Regions from separate parts of the Homo sapiens genome. Here regions 1, 2, 3 and 4 are each linked to region 5. Evidence: promoter capture Hi-C in 16 types of primary human blood cells and fetal thymus (Javierre and others, 2016). All regions are on one chromosome and are shown on one strand. The core of a region is centred on a gene start or on the middle of the fragment in contact, and the rest is flanking DNA. Distances in the headings are between cores, read along the strand shown. Region 1 overlaps NPAT (nuclear protein, coactivator of histone transcription). Region 2 overlaps CUL5 (cullin 5). Region 3 overlaps NPAT (nuclear protein, coactivator of histone transcription). Region 4 overlaps NPAT (nuclear protein, coactivator of histone transcription). Region 5 holds the start of POGLUT3 (protein O-glucosyltransferase 3).

Region 1 (3,170 bases), core at 106-2,605, 310 kb after region 5:
CTTTACATGTTAGAAATCCTACATATGCCTGGCTGAACCTTAGAGTTAGGAATATCCTTAGAGAGTGTGTGGTATATCTTATTTGTTGCATACTTGAAACTTCTGAAAACACATGGTAGTTAAGGGATAAGAAGCTAGTTAATAACAGAGTTGGGATTAGAATTCAGGAGTTAGCACTCTCAGTTCACAAACCAATTATCTTTCTGTGCAGCTAAAATTTGTTGCCATCAAGATCTCCCTCATTTTCACCTTTTCCAAATCCTTTTCTACACCCAGAATGCTTAGTTTATACTTCTTAGACTTTTTCCATTCTACTGTATTATTTTTTGTTGAGACTATATTGTACTTTGGATTTTATTGTAAAACCTTAAGGCATAAAGACTGTATTTTATTAATCTTAGTGTCTTTTACCATGCTTTACACATGGTAGGCACTCAGTACATGTTAATTGAATTTAATATAAAATAATAATCACTAATGCTTTTTATCCCATTACAAGTTTAGAAAACTATTCAGTTTCTTTGGCTTACTGTTATGTTTTCTTGAAATACAGCTGGAGAAGCTTTAAATGTCATTCCTGGTGCTCAGGAAAAGAAAGCACATGCCAGTTTAATGTCTCCCGGTAGACGCAAAAGGTAAATGCTTTTTAAAAGAGACAAGTTACCCGTATCCATTAAAAAAAAAAAAAAAGAATTACATCAGGATACTTACATTGTGAATAAACTAATAGGACCAGATTATGTTCTGATCTATATTAGAACTATTCCAAAATACATTGTCTTTCTTCACATTTTAACCTGCCTGAAATTGGGTTGCATCTCTCAATTAATGGCATATCACTGTTTCATGGGAAATATGTTTATTCTGTAATGGTATATAAAATAATGGTATATCTTACAAATGATGTTATCTGAGATTTTTTGCAATCCATGTTTTTTAACTGAATGTAAATAATACAGTTATGTTCTATGCTCCACACACATTTAAAGTCCTAAGATCAATTGATGGAATTTTTCCAGGCACAATCTTTGAGAAAAGTGTTTTTCCCAAAACACTTTTGAGAAAAGTGTGTCTTTGTTTGAAGGATATTTTTTGAAAGAGATAATAGTTTTAAAATGTTTATTCTAGTTTCTTAGCTCCCAAGCCCTGGGTATTTTTGTTAGAGTTTTTACTTTTGGTTGTCTTTCATTCAAGACTGACCTTAGTTAGCCTCCTTTATTGGAGCCTTTCTCACTTCACCATATAAAATAACAAACAGCAATATCCATTTTTTTATTTTTAGAGATAGGGCCTTGCTGTCTTGACCAGGTTAGAGTATAGTGGTACAATCATAACTCACTGCAGCCTCGAACTTGTGGGCTCAGAAGATCCTCCCACCTTAGCCTCCCCAGTAGCCAGCAGCACAGGCACATGCCGCCACACCCAGCTAATTTTTTTATTTTTTGTAGAGATGGGGGTCTCACTTTGTTGCCCAGGCTGGTCTGAAACTCCTGGCTTCAAGTGATCTTCCCACCTTGGCCTCCAAAATTGCTGGGATTACAGATGTGAGCCACCATGCCCAGCCATAAAAGAGCAACATTAATATTTAACATTTATAGGAACCCTGACTTTTTAAATAAAGTCTTTATATATACTTTATTTCATTCCATTCTTTAGTAAACCCAATAATGCAGTTGGTCATTATAAAGTAGGTTAGAGAGTCAGAGCTTGCTGTGCTTCAGACCATAGGTAGTAAGTGGTAAAGCTAGACTTCAAACTCATTTTTTTGAATTCAAGACTACTAATACTTTTTGTACTTCCCTTTGTTCCTAACACAAATAGAGAAAATATAGTTGACCTTGAATAACATGGGTTTCAACTGCATGGGTTCATTTATACTCAAGTTTTTTTCAACCGAACACAGATTAAAAATTTAGTAGTAAAACCTGCCTATATGCAGTGTGCTGACTTTTTGAATACATGGGCTTCCTAGTGCAGACTGTAGGACTTGAGTACATGTGGATTTTGATATCCTTGGGGGTCCTGAAACCAGCCCCCTGCAGATACAGGGACAACTGTATCTGTTCTGTTATGGTGATCTTAAAATTTATGTCTGTATATGTATTTATCTTTAAATCTGTTAAATATAGTGGTTAAAAGAAAAGCTTTTAAAATGTGTTTCAGTGAATCTCAGAGAAAAAGTACCACTTTGTCTGGCCCTCATTCAACAATACGGAATTTCCAAGATCCAAACGCTTTTGCAGTAGAAAAAGTAAGTGACTCTGCCAAACTTTGCAACTTAAAATATTCCTGAGTTTAAAAATACAGATATATACACAAATGTATGTATGTGTGTATGTATCAAATAAAGAAACAGGAGTAAGTTTATAGATATCTGTAAATACATTGTTGTTGTTGGATCATTTAATAAAATACTGGCCAGGTGCTATGGCAAACACCTGTAATCCCAGCACTTTGGGAAGCTGAGGTGGGCAGATTGCTTGAGCTCAGGAATTCAAGACCAACCTGGGCAACATGGTAAAACCCCCTCTCTACAAAAAATACAAATATTAGCTAGGTGTGGTAGCACGTGCCTGTAGTCCTAGCTGCTTGGGAGGCTGAGATGGGAGGACTGCTTGAGCCTGGGAGGTCAAGGCTGCAGTGAGCCATGATCATACCACTACACTCAAGCCTGGGTGACAGAGTCAGACCCTGTCTCAAAAAAAAAAACTGGCCGGCGAGTAGTGGCTTGTACCTGTAATCCCAGCACTTTGAGAGGCCAAAGCCAGCGGATCTCTTGAGGCCAGGAATTCAAGACCAGCCTGGACAACTGTCTCTACTAAAAATACAAAAATTAGCTGGGTGTGATGGCACACGCCCGTAATCCCAGCTACTATTCAGGAGGCTAAGGCACAAGAATTGCTTGAACTGCGAGGTGGAGGTTGCAGTGAACTGAGATTGTGCCACTGTACTCCAGGCTGGGCTATAGAGCGACACTGTAAAAATAGGGCATTTACTGGGGTTTGATGATGAGTGTGGAACTGTATAAGAAAGAGTTGGTGAAAGATCTGTGAAAACATTTGCAAATTATGAAGTGTTGTATTCAGGTATTAATATGGAGGGAGCCATCACAACTTCTGAGTTTCCATTTAGGTTTATTAAAACTATCCAGCTCTTATCGGTTTGTTCTT
Region 2 (3,239 bases), core at 629-3,128, 430 kb after region 5:
TAATAAAACTCATTTAAAACTGGGGATATTTTTTCTTAAAAATAAAACTAAAAGGTGTTCCAATATTACTGTTTTGCCACTTCTTTTTTCTTTCTTCCTTTTTTTTTTTTTGAGACGGAGTCTCGATCTGTCGCCCAGGCTGGAGTGCAGTGGCACCTTCTCGGCTCACTGCAAGCTCCACTTCCTGGGTTCACGCCATTCTCCTGCCTCACCCTCCCAAGTAGCTGGGACTATAGGCGCCCGCCACCCCGCCTGGCTATTTTTTTTGTATTTTTAGTAGAGAGGGGTTTCACCATGTTAGCCAGGATAGTCTCGATCTCCTGACCTTGTGATCTGCCCACCTCGGCCTCCCAAAGTGCTGGGATTACAGGCGTGAGCCACCTTGCCCAGCTCCCTGTTTTACAGAGAAAATAGTAATTTCAATTACTATTTTCAATTTTCAATTCTGTATTTTTAAAAATTTAATGTTTTTATTTGTAATCAACACATAATGGTACATATTATGGGGTACAATGTTATATTTCAATGCATGTATATACTATAATGATCAAATTGGGGTAACTACTATATCCATCACTTCAAACATTTATAATTTCTTTGTGGTAACAACATAAAAAATCTCTTCTATCTTGAAATATACACTACATTGTTACTTGCTATATCCGCCCTAATGGGTAATAGAACACCAAAACTTATTCTTCCTATTGAACTATAACTTTATACCCCACTAACCAACCTCTTCTGCTCCCCCAACCCCCAGCCTCTGGTAACCGCTCACTATTTTCAATAATCCTACATTTAAAAAATAGCCTTGATATATATCTATCATTGCCATTGAAAAAAAACTTACAGTAGTAATAGTTTCAGCAGCTGCTACCATATCTGCCAGGCCAGCACTAATGATATGTTCCTCCAAGTCTTTCAACATTGGCTCTATACCATTAGGAACTTTGTCCATCAATGAAAACATTAAATGTAATTCTGGAAGGAGAGAACACATTCATGTAATCATTTCATTTACTAGAGTAAGAGTTTAGAGAAACATTAGTTAAGTTTGTAATGTTAATAGTATTCTGTGGATACAATGCCATTAGGAGTAGTTGTTCGTTTTTTTGTTGTTGTTTTTTTGTTTTTGAGACAGGGTCCCAGTCTGTCACCCAAGCTGGAGTACAGTGGCTCGATCACGGCTCACTGCAGCCTTGACCTCTTGGGCGCAAGCAATCCTCCCATCTCAGCCTCCTGAGTAGCTGGGACCACAGGCACATGTCACCATGCCTGGCTAATGTTTTTTGTAATTTTGTAGAGACAGGGTCTCCCAATGTTGCCCAAGCTGGTCTCAAACTTCGGGGCTCACACAATCCTCTCGCCTTGGTCTCTCAAAGTGCTGGGATCATAGGTATGAGCCACTGTACTTAGTCTAAAAATTATGTTTAAAAAAAAATCGAATTAAAAGTGATCAGGCTGGGTGTGGTGGTTCACGCTTGTAACTCCAGCACTTTGGGAGGCCAAGGTGGGAGGATCATTTGAGCCCAGGAGTTAAAAAGACCAGTCAGGGCAACATGGCAAAACCCATCGTTACACAAAAACAAACAAACAAAATTAGCTGGGTGTGGTGGTGCATGTCTTTGGTCCCAGATACTTGGGAGGCTGAAGTGTGAGGAATGCCTAAGCCCAGGAGGCTGAGGCTGCAGTGAGCCGTGATTGCACCATTGCACTCAGCCTGGGTGACAGGGCAAGACGGTCTCAAAAAATAAAAATAAAAAAAGTGATCAAATACTGCAAAACCCAACTCCTTTCTTTAAAAGGTCAGTCATTTGGCCAGAAGCAGTGGAGATCAGCCTGGGCAACAAGGTGGGGCTCTGCCTCTACAAAAAATACAAAAATTAGCCAGGCATGGTGGTACACGGCTGTAGTCCCAGCTACTCAGTGGGCTGGGAGGTGGGAGGATCGCTTGAGCCCAGGAGGTCAAGGCTACAGTGAATTGTGATCGTGCCATCGAATTCCAGGTTGGGCAACACAGCGAGACCCAGTCTCAAAAGAAAAGGTGAGTCATTTGGTTTTCAGTGCAAAGGAATATTTATTTACACACAAGATTAGTTTATTTCATAAGGTAGTTGTAATACTACATATACAGCCATATCATCAAAAGGTAAAAAACATGAGTAATAATTACGAAAGCAACTATATTAGAGATTAGAATATAAAACTGTATTCATAAATAATTTTTCAATTTACAAAGCACTTTTTCATGTTATGCCATTTTATTGACCTTCACAAAAACCCTACCTCACGGTACTGATTACCACTAAATAAATCCTTTTGAAAAGAGTGCAACATAGATCAGACATAACTCTAATTAGACTGGCACACAGAATACAAGTATTTTGTTTACGCCAATAAAGCAGCTTGCTTTTTACTACTGAATTACTCCTAAAAAGTGTATGAACTTAAGTGAATTGAAATATGCACTTTAAATGCAACTAGAGATTAAACAGGACCTTGCAGTTAGATATAATAAAACCTGGAAACTCAGTAGAAGTACGTTATTTAAAAAACAAAAGCAAAAAAATGTTAAAAGCAGTTTTACTGGGGTAGTAGGTATATGTACAATTTTTTTTTTTAGTTTGTTATATACTTGCTACCTCTCAAAACACATCTTTTTAAGAAAACATTGAAGTAATAAAAAAATCCTTTAGAAATCTTATAAAGTATTTTGGGGGACAGAGATGACTATTAACAGGGAGTGTTTTATTACATTCTAAAAAGATTCATCACAAGGTTCCACACAAAAGTCAAATACCTGGTTCTAATCTATAACATATGTTTCCAGTTTAAACTGGCCTTTAAAAGCAGTGTCTTGCTTTTGAGAAAAAAGTAGAAATTCACCATACACATACACAGATGTTGATAGCTAAGAGGGAAAATGCTTAAAATTTAAGTTTATATACTCTTAGCAGTGCCTCTGTGTTAAATATTTTATCTATTTCCTTAAGTATAGTTCACTCTAACAGTTCCACATATACCTATGTGGAAAAGAATTAACTAAGAGCAACTTAGTAAGTGATTTGTTTCAAAGATACCCTCTTAGAAGATTATGATAACTTTATGTGATGTTTTACCTACTTTCAGTTTCATTTCTCTTGATCATGCCTTGGCACTCAGCTAAGATAGTCTCTTTAAATGATGTCACCAGGGCATTTACACAGCATTCCATGAGCTGAAATATATCAAAAATTAGT
Region 3 (3,408 bases), core at 734-3,233, 330 kb after region 5:
GTAGTGGTGTTGCCTGGAAATTCTGCACCTATGACTGCTCAACCTCTACCACCTCAGTTACAGACACCACCAAGGTCAAACAGTGTATTTGCTGTCAACCAAGCTGTGTCACCAAACTTTTCACAAGGTAACTTTAATAACATAATTGAAATTTGTTTCTCTGGGTTGGGATCTAATTTCTTTTGTATGTGATGTTATTGACTGCGAAGTAATAACTAATGAGTAGATGGTATGAGAAAAGATTCTGAAATTTGTGATTACGCTGCTTCTTTATGCTAGCTAATTCAAACCTTTTTTATTTTTCTTAATCTGCTAGTAAGCTATGGGCTTTAGTGGTTTTTCTTTTTTCTTTTCACAAATACTTCTCAATCTATGTGCTAGTAAGTTACAATAAACAGAAAAGACAGACTAATTCATCACATAGTTGTATAAAACCCAATGTTGTGGGGGAGTTTTTAAAAATAGCTCTTATAGTCATGGTCTTCAGGGAATTCATCATCTTTTTGGAGAAATTTTCAAGAAAAACTTGAATTTCAGCCGGTTATGGTGGCTCACGCCTGTAATCCCAGCACTTTGGGAGGCCGAGGTGGGCCGATCGATCACCTGAGGTCAGGAGTTTGAGACCAGCCTCGAGAACATGGTGAAACCTCATTTCTACTAAAAATACAAAAAAATGAGCCAGGCATGGTGGCAGGTGCCTGTAATTACAGCTACTTGGGAGGCTGAGGCAGGAGAATCTCGTGAACCCAGGAGACAGAGGTTTCAGTGAGCCAAGATCATGCCATTGCACTTCAGCCTGGGCAACAAGAGCGAGACTCTGTCTCAAAAAAAAAAAAAAACTTGAATTTCTTCCTTTATAAAATCCTTTCTAATTGATCTCTGTCTTTAAAATCCTTTGTTTATGGCTGGGCTCAGTGGCTCATGACTGTAATCCCAGCACTTTGGGAGGCCGAGGCGGGCAGATCACCCGAGGTCAGGAGTTCAAGACCAGCCTGGCCAACATGGTGAAACCCCGTATCTACTAAAAATACAAAAATTGGCATGGTGGTGGGCACCTGTAATCCCAGCTGCTTGGGAGGCTGAGACAGAAGAATCTAAAGCTGGGAGGCAGAGGTTGCAGTGAGCCAAGATCGCACCACTGCACTTCAGCCTGGGTGACAGAGTAAGACTCTGTCTCCAAAAAAAAAAAAAAAAAAAAAAATCCTTTTTTCATAGGGGCTCTTGTGGCATTTATTGCGTGCTGTGTTATATGTAGTTAGTGATTGATATGCCTATCATATTGATAATTTTTTATTGTATGTTCCTCAGAGATAGTGCTCATGGCACATTTATTTACATTTCCTTATGTGTTGGTTCCCAAGCTTCCCTCTTTTCCCTTTTTGTTACATTATAGACATACAATAAAATTTCATTAAATATCAACAATTAGTATTAAACCTAATGGGTCTGTTTTACGTGCTGTTACAAATTACATAAAGGAGAGGTCAGAATTAATAGAGAATGTGGGGCTTGAGCTAAAGCTTAAAGAATGAAGGTAGGATTTGGAGTTAAAGCAAGGAAGTTTTTATAACTTATAAAATCTGTAAGTTATAAAGAGAAGCAGCACCAGCATAGACAGAGAGACCGTAGTAGGTTGCATGAAAATGAGGGGATCAACCTGACAGTAGTGTATTAGGCAAAAGTTTGTTTATGGACAGGACTAAATTACAGTAGCCACAAACTATGTTGTTGACTTCTGAGGACCATGTAGACATTGTAATTTTCCCTCCATAGTTTTGACCAGTTACGTGCTTACCTTACCCCCTTTTGATCAATACCATTGAGATATGTAATAGGTTGGGGTTACAAGTGTAGTCCTGGGTATAAATATTCAGTTGGGGTTGTAATTTTCTGGTGTAAGGTTCAGACTTGAAACATTCACCACTCATTTTCTAACTAGTTTCATTATTTCTAGAGGAATCCAGATATGATTGTAATATGATGTCTTGGCTGTAGAGTCTTATGCTTGATCAGCATGGTTCACTGACTGAATAACATTAAGACCACCTTAATATTTGGATTGACTTTTTCTTAATTTGTTAGCCTTGCTGTTTTTCCTAAAACTGTTTCAGTTTCGTTTTTTTTGTTTTGTTTTGTTTTGTTTTTGGAGAGTGGATCGTAAGGAAGAGGGATTGTTCATAGAATTTATTTCAAAGCAGTAATTAATTTGTGCCAAACATTTGTTTGTTTTGTGCCAAAACATTTCAGAGAAAATCTTTTTTTAACAAGAATTGTTTTTTTAGGATCTGCCATAATAATTGCCTCTCCAGTCCAGCCTGTACTCCAAGGAATGGTAGGGATGATCCCAGTATCTGTGGTTGGACAGAATGGAAATAACTTTTCTACTCCTCCTCGGCAGGTAAGATTTATGAACTGAAAATGGTGTGGTGATGCTTTTCAAGCTTAGTGTAATTAATGGCTTTTTCTCTTCCAGGTTCTTCATATGCCTTTGACAGCACCTGTATGCAATAGAAGTATCCCTCAATTCCCCGTCCCTCCAAAATCTCAGAAGGCTCAGGGACTAAGAAACAAGCCTTGTATAGGTACCATTTTTAATTTCATTAATGTTAACTTTATGTTTGTATGTTCATTTGTTTGCAGCAACACCTAAATGTTTTCTTTCTGAATACCTAAACCATTTTAAAACAAGTGATCACCCTACATTTGCTAGTAACAGATGTCATAATGCAGCCAACTGTTACTGAACAGCTTTGGTTCTGAGAAAATTGTCTCCTTTGTTGAATCTGTTAGCTTTTGCCCAGTAGTCCTTGGTTTGTTCTTTGCAGCTTCCCTAAATTAAGTATAGTCCCTATTTTTCCCAACAGCTTTCAAGTGTTTAATGAATGCCTCGTATAATTGTATGAGACTTTAGAGCAGTTCTTCTTGTAGTTTAGTGTGTATATGAACTATTTGGGGATTTTGTTAAATGCAGGTACTGAATTGATAGGTCTGGTACAGCACCTGAAATTCCTCATTTCTAACAGCTTCTAAGCAATGCCAGTGCTGCTGGTACTGGACCACACTTGAAGCAAGGCTTTAAAGTTTGCAAATTACCTTCCTGTGTTCCCTGTTTTAGCCATTGTCCCAACCATCTGTTTACTTGTGAAAAACCTGGTAGTCACTCTTAAAACACATTTTCCTCTCCTTCTTAGTTCAAGTATTTGTCATTTTTCATCTAAGTTGTATCAATAGTGTCATGTAGTCTCCCTTCTTTTAGTCTCTGTTGTTTCAGTTCACCTCATATCTGCTGGCTGAGTGACTTTTTTTCCCTAAAATACAAATCTGAATATGTTGCTTTCCTGCCTAAAAACTTTCAGCAACTCCCCTTTGCCCAAAGGATAAAATTGAAATTTCTCAGGGTGACATATG
Region 4 (3,296 bases), core at 56-2,555, 290 kb after region 5:
AGAATCCTTATACTATTAAGTCACTTCCAATTCCCCCTTGCCCCGTCCTCTGCCAACCACAAATCTACTTTCTGTATCTATACATGTGCCTTGCCTGGACATTGCACATAAATGAAATAGAATATTTCGCTTTTTGTGTCTGACTTTCACATAGCATAATGTTTTCAGCCTTATTCCATGTTGTAGCAGGTATTAGTACTTCATTCCTTTTTATAGCTGAATATTTCATTATATGAATATGCCATATTTTGTTTGTCCATTCATTAATGGACACTGTTATGAAAAATGCAGGCCAGCTGTAATGGCTCACCCTGTAATCCCAACACTTTGGGAGGCCAAGGCAGGAGGATTGCTTGAAGCCAGGGGAGCGAGACCAGCCTGGGCAGCATACTGAGACACCCCATCTGTACCAATAAGTAAGTAATTAGCTGGGCATTTATTTGGTGGTACATGCCTCTAGTCCTAGCTACTGGGTTGGCTGAAGTGGGAGGATCACTTCAGCCCAGGAGTTCAAGGTTATAGTGAGCTATGATTGAGCCACTCTACTTCAGCCTGGGTGACAGAGCAAGACTCTGTCTCTGAAAAAAAATAAACTGACCATAAATGTCTGGATTCCATGCTTCAGAGTTGACTAGATAAATAAGAAAGGTCTGGATTTTTTATTTTGTTCCACTAATTTCTGTGTCTAACCTCATGCCCGTACATCGTCTGGATTACTGTAGCTTTACAGTAAGTTTTGAAATTGGTAAGTGTAAGTGCTTCAACTTTTTCTTCATTTTCAAGATTATTTTGGCTATTCCAGCCCCCTTGTATTACCTTAGGAGTTTTAGGATGTTTGTCAATTTCTGCACAAAAGGCAGTTGAGATTATGATAGGAATTGTGTTGAATGTATCGGTGAATTTTGGGAGTATTGAGTTTTTAACAATATTGAACCTTTCAGTCCATGAACACAGTATGTCTTTGCGTGGATTTAGGTCTTTAATTTCCTCCAGTGACGTTTTCCAGTTTTTAGTATGCAAGTCCTTTACTTTTGTTAAACTTATTCCTAAGTATTTTATTTCTTTTGATGCTATTGTAACTAGCATTGCATTCTTAATTTTTGGTAGTTCATTGAGATTTATTGACTTTTATATATTCACTGTGTATCCTGCAACCTTGTCGAAGTCATTTATTAGCTCTAATAGTTTTTGTTTTGTTTCGTTTTGTTTTTGGGACAGAGTTTCGCTCTTGTTGCCCAGGCTGGAGTGCAATGGCGCAATCTTGGCTCACCACAACCTCTGCCTCCCGGGTTCAAGCGATTCTCCTGCCTCAGCCTCTGGAATAGCTGGGATTACAGGCATGCATCACCTTGCCCAGCTAACTTTGTATTTTTAGTAGCACCAGGGTTTCTCCATGTTGGTCAGGCTGGTCTCGAACTCCCGACCTCAGGTGATTTGCTGGCCTTGGCCTCCCAAAGTGCTGGATTATAGGCATGAGCCACCATGCCCCGCCCAGGGAGGTTTCTTAACTCCTTTTTTTTTTTTTTTTTTTTTTTTTTTGAGACAGAGTCTTGCTCTGTTGCCCAGGCTGGAGTGCAATGGCACCATCTCGGCTCATTGCAACCTCCACCTCCCTGGTTCAAGTGATTCCCCTGCCTCAGCCTCCCTAGCAGCTGGGATTAAGGTGGACACCACCATGCCTGGCTCATTTTTTTGTATTTTTAGTAGAGACGGGGTTTCACCATGTTGGCCAGACTGGTCTCGAACTCCTGACCTCAGGCAATCTGCCTGCCTTGGCCTCCCAGAGTGCTGGGATTATAGGTATGAGCCGTGGTGCCTGGCCTCTAATAGTTTTTTTGTTGTTGTTGTTGTTGTTTTTTATGGCTTCCTTAGGATTTTCTATATAAGACATGTCATCTGCAAATAGGGGTAATCTTGATTTTTTCCTTTCCAATCTGGATGCTTTTTTTTTTTTTCTTTTGAGACGGAGTCTCTCTCTGTTGCCCAGGCTAGAGTGCAGTGGCCCTATCTCAGCTCACTGCAACCTCCACCTCCCGGATTCAAGCAATTCTCCTGCCTCTGCCTCCTGAGTAGTTGGCATTACAGGCATGCACCACCACACCTGGCTAATTTTTGTATTTTTAGTAGAGACGGGGTTTCACCATGTTGAGCAGGCTGGTCTGGAACTCCTGACCTCAAATGATCCGCCCAGCTCGGCCTCCCAAAGTGCTGGGATTACAGGTGTGAGCCACTGCACCCGGCCTGGATGCTTTTTATTTCAAGTTTTTTCCTAATTGCCCTGGCTAGAGGATACATGCAATGTTGAATAGAAATGACAAGAACAGACCTTCTTACCTTTTCCCTGATCTTATGGGGAAAGGTTTGAATTTTAAACCATTGAAGATGATGTTACTTGGCTTTTTTTTTTTTTAATAGATAACTCTATGAGGTTGAGGAAATTTCTTTTTATTTCTAGTGTTTTTATCATGAAAGGGTGTTGGATTTTGTTTTTTTTGGTTTCTTTGGTAGAGTTTTGTTTTGTTTTGTTTTGCTTTTGAAACAGGTTCTTACTCTGTCATCCAGGCTGGACTGCAGTGGCATGATTATGGCCCACTGCAGCCTCAGCCTCCCAGACTAAAACTATCCTTCTACCTCACCCTCCCAAGTAACTGGAACTATAGGCACATGCCACCATACCCAGCTAAATTTTTAATTTTTTGCAGAGATGGGGGTCTCACTATATTGCCCAGATTGGTTGGATTTTGTTCAGTTCTTTTTCCATGATAATGTGACTTTCGTCTTTTACGTTAGGGATATAGTATATTACACTGATTTATTTTTATTCAACCAACCTTGCATTACTGCATTAAATCCCACTTGGTCATGGTGCATCACTGTTTTTATATGTTGCTGGACTTGATTTGCTAGTATTTTGTTAAGGATTTTTTTTTTTTTTTTTCCTGAAGACAGGGTCTCACTCTGTCACCTATTCTGGAGTGCAGTGGCCCAATCATGGCTCACTGCAGCCTTGACTTCCCAGGCTCAAGTGATCCTCTCATTTCAGCCTCCCAAGTAGCTGGGACCACAGGTGCACACCACCATGTCCAGCTAACTTTTGTATTTTTTGTAGAGATGGCATTTTTGCCATTATGCCCAGGCTGGTCTGGAACTCCTGAGCTCAAGCAATCCTCCTGCCTCGGCCTCCCACAGTGCTGGGATTACAGGCGTGAGCCACTGTGCCCACCCTGTTGAGGACTTTTATGTTCACTTTGTTTCTTTTCTTTTTTTTTTTAGACGGTGTCTCACTCTGTTGCCAA
Region 5 (3,162 bases), core at 120-2,619:
TATTGGCTTTAAATAAATTCAGATCTATTAACAATCCATTAACAAATTTGTATCCATTAACAAATTGGATAAAATGATCAAAAAAGAGAGGCAGATAGTAACCTTGACAATCTCTTCCTGGATCCAGCGTTCATCTTCTGAGGAGTGGTGGAGGTGGCTGAGACCAACCACGCACCACCACCCCTTCTCCCACTTCGATTACAGAGGCTTTGAGGTAAAGCTCGCACAAGGGCTCAAGGCAAGGCCTGGTCTTCTGCCACCCCAGTGCCCAGCTCCTCACTCTGGGCTTGGCCCAAACTCCGTGGATGTTCTGTAAACACCTGCTGGAAGAAGAGGAGTGCGGGAGGAAGCGGGGAAAGGGATGTGTGGGGTGGGGGGATCACGGTTCTGTGAGGGAGGCTGCTAAGCAGAAAAGCAACAAAACCGGCCACAAGAGAACGGTGCTGCTGTGAACAGAGGGCTGTGAGGGAGGGCGGGGGGCGTGACCTTGGCGCTCATCTTGTAAACTCGGAGACATTCCTTGGGAAAAGATATTTCCCTAAACTACATCGATCTTGGGGCCGGACCCTTTCATCGTCCCACAACAATCACCACCGGGTCTACGTCCTTTAAAAACACCTGAGCGGCGGACCCGGTGGCTCATGCCTGTAATCCCGGCACTTTGGGAAGCCGAGGCGGGCGGATTGCTTGAAACCAGGAGTTCAAGACCACCTTGGGCAACATAGGGAGACCCCGTCTCTACAAATAGTAATAGTAATAATAATAATAATAATAATAATAATAATAATAATAATAAATTAAATTAGCCAGCGTGGTGTCGTGTGCCTACAGTCAGTCCCAGCTACTCGGGAGGCTGAGGCGGGAGGATCTCCTGAGCCCACGAGTTCCAGGCTGCAGTGAGCTGTGGTCGCGCCATTGCACTCCAGCCTAGGCGACAGAGCCAGCCCCCTTGTCTGTATAAAAACAGAGAAAGAAAAGAGAAGAAAGAAGGAAAGGAAGGAAGAAAAAGAAAGGGAAAGACCACTGGAAGTGGAGGCCAGGCGTGCCTGAAGCCTTGGCAATCAACAGCCAGCGCACACTCGCAGCCTCGGTCTCTGGGCGGGCCTCTCCACCCCTTTCCTCCACGGGGCCTATGGGGCTGCGGGGAGGAAGGGGCGCACCCATCGTCGACCCCTACAGGGCGCGCAGTGGGTGATTGCGGCACTGGCTCGCGTTCCCGCCCGAGGGAGACGAGGCGGGACAGCGGGCGGGAAAGGGAGCCTGCGCCGCAATCTTTCCCGCCCGAAAGACCCGCCCCGCGGTGGGCCCCAGTCCCCGCCCGGTCCGCGGCGCTGCCGGCCCCTCCTCGCCGCCGCGGAGCTGGACCGCAGTTGTGCCCCGCCGACCATGCGCCGCCTCCCGCGGGCCCTGCTGCTGCAGCTGCGCCTCGCCCTGCTGGTGGCCGCGGGGGCCCCGGAGGTGCTGGTCAGCGCGCCGCGGAGCCTGGTGTGGGGGCCCGGGCTGCAGGCGGCCGTCGTCCTGCCGGTCCGCTATTTCTACCTGCAGGCGGTCAACTCGGAGGGCCAGAACCTCACTCGCTCTCCCGCAGGTAGTGTCCAGCCGCCGGCCTCCCTCGTCCCGCGGCCGGGTCCCCGCGCGTCCCCGCCGCCCGGGAGTCCGCCCGCGGCCTGCGTGGCGTCCCTCCCCGGCGTGTGTCGCCCCTTTTTGGGTCTGGTCAGCTCCTCTTCCCTCCTCCCGCCCATACTCAAAGCGGGCAAAAATCACCACGAAAGTTTGTGGAATGAATGAATGAATGAACTTGAAGGGCCCTTCCGCATTTAATGTGCAGGGACTGATGTTGCGAATGGACGGCGCCCGGGCGTTACAAGGAGTGTGCCGTGAGTCACACGTTGCCTTCCATCTCGGACTTAGTTGTCTGAACTGTGAGGGATTGCAGGGAGCGCTTTCCAGTGGTGAGTCATCAAGCCGACGGATCGCGTCGGATTACATGGCTTAGGCCTGGTGGGTTTGGAGCAACGAAATCCTACGCAGAGGAAATGTCAGAGCCGTAGGAAGGAGGAGGGGTTTACGTGTTAGTTTTTTGTTTCCTTTTTAGTTCTGAGTTTTTGAAAGCAGATTACAGGAACTAGGGAAACTCAGTAGAAATCATTCGGTTTTCCCTCCACGGAGGGTGAGATGGATCTCGTCCTGAATCCCTTTCTGCCCGGTCCTCCTCCCACGTTGTCCTTCACGTCTTAACCTTTGCAACTTCTTAAAACTTGTCCTGCTGGTTTCACGCTGTTGTCAGTCAGGATTTGCTAATGTATAATTTGGGGCTCTGGCCAACTAGCACCTTGTTGTATCAGCGAAGAGACAATTAGAATAAACCAGTGCCTCTGCCCCTGCTAGTCCAGCTGGGAACATAGCTGCCAGAAGTGTGTCCCAACTTGGGAAAGGGGTAAGGGGGTCTTGACAGCTGGGCAAAGCAGAGAATTTAGGAACCAAACATAATTCACTTTTAGATTTAATGATTTTTAAAATTTCATTCATTCAAGAAATACTTCTTTGATGTCTACTTCTGTGTTTGGTAATTCTGCTGGGAATCTAAGGATGAAAAGACAATGCCTGACCATCAAGGAACTTACAGTCTGTTGGTCAAAGACATGCAAATAACTGATCACTGTACAAGATAATTGAAGGTATGTACAGAGTGCAGTGGCAACATTGAAGCACTGCCAGAGACTGGAGAAATCCAGGAAGATTTCAGGAGCAGAGACTTGAAGGATGAGAAGGTTTGCTGGGCAGGCATATAGAAGGACGCCATGGCATGTGCAGAAGCACAGAGGCGTAGGAGACCGTGGTGTTCGGGAAAATAAGTACTGTAATTTAATGATACTGAGCGGAAAAGCCTGGTTGATTGTAGCCTCTGGTCTTCAAGCGCCTTGAATGCCAAGCAAATGACTTTATAACTAGATAAAAGAGAGCCACTGGAGAAATTTGAGCTGAGGCAAGAATCTGCCTCTCCCTTAACTACCTCAGTGGCTTGTTTTCTACATTTGATTCAGAACACCACTCCTGAAGTTGTCTTTGGGCATTGCTTTGATAACGTGTCTACCAGTTAGACCCTAAATACTCAGACAACTGGTTTCATATGCATGATATGCATTTAGGTAAAATAATTCC

What was found. Contacts are between HindIII fragments. The CHiCAGO score rates a contact against its expected background, and 5 or more counts as called.
Region 1: a contact is called between a fragment that was not itself captured here and the fragment with the promoter of POGLUT3 in region 5, in 2 of 17 cell types (naive CD4 T cells and non-activated CD4 T cells). The highest score is 5.5, in naive CD4 T cells.
Region 2: a fragment that was not itself captured here is called in contact with the fragment with the promoter of POGLUT3 in region 5 in 5 of 17 cell types (total CD4 T cells, naive CD8 T cells, non-activated CD4 T cells and 2 more); the score reaches 10.9 in total CD4 T cells.
Region 3: a fragment that was not itself captured here is called in contact with the fragment with the promoter of POGLUT3 in region 5 in 3 of 17 cell types (total CD4 T cells, total CD8 T cells and naive CD4 T cells); the score reaches 7.2 in total CD4 T cells.
Region 4: a fragment that was not itself captured here is called in contact with the fragment with the promoter of POGLUT3 in region 5 in 3 of 17 cell types (total CD4 T cells, naive CD4 T cells and naive CD8 T cells); the score reaches 7.2 in total CD4 T cells.

The regions. Positions count from the first base shown.
Region 1 is chr11:108,185,563-108,188,732 of GRCh38, reverse strand. It overlaps NPAT (nuclear protein, coactivator of histone transcription), which reads left to right. Exons shown (of 18, transcript NM_002519.3): 7 at 554-635; 8 at 2,164-2,251. Among named protein-coding and RNA genes, the nearest start is that of NPAT, 35 kb to the left of the region's middle. The HindIII fragment of the contact is 1,582 bases long and covers 565-2,146 here.
Region 2 is chr11:108,070,074-108,073,312 of GRCh38, reverse strand. It overlaps CUL5 (cullin 5), which reads right to left. Exons shown (of 19, transcript NM_003478.6): 8 at 3,124-3,217; 9 at 851-981. Among named protein-coding and RNA genes, the nearest start is that of ACAT1, 50 kb to the left of the region's middle. The HindIII fragment of the contact is 4,040 bases long and covers 1-3,239 here.
Region 3 is chr11:108,168,918-108,172,325 of GRCh38, reverse strand. It overlaps NPAT (nuclear protein, coactivator of histone transcription), which reads left to right. Exons shown (of 18, transcript NM_002519.3): 13 at 1-127; 14 at 2,283-2,398; 15 at 2,474-2,582. Among named protein-coding and RNA genes, the nearest start is that of ACAT1, 49 kb to the right of the region's middle. The HindIII fragment of the contact is 921 bases long and covers 1,523-2,443 here.
Region 4 is chr11:108,211,189-108,214,484 of GRCh38, reverse strand. All of the region lies in intron 1 of NPAT (nuclear protein, coactivator of histone transcription), which reads left to right. Among named protein-coding and RNA genes, the nearest start is that of NPAT, 9.8 kb to the left of the region's middle. The HindIII fragment of the contact is 5,376 bases long and covers 1-3,296 here.
Region 5 is chr11:108,496,591-108,499,752 of GRCh38, reverse strand. POGLUT3 (protein O-glucosyltransferase 3) reads left to right here and starts at 1,369. Exons shown (of 8, transcript NM_153705.5): 1 at 1,369-1,588. The coding sequence starts at 1,387. LOC112267909 (a long non-coding RNA gene) reads right to left here and starts at 692. Exons shown (of 3, transcript XR_007062880.1): 1 at 103-692. RefSeq lists a silencer at 1,217-1,736. The HindIII fragment of the contact is 8,220 bases long and covers 1-3,162 here.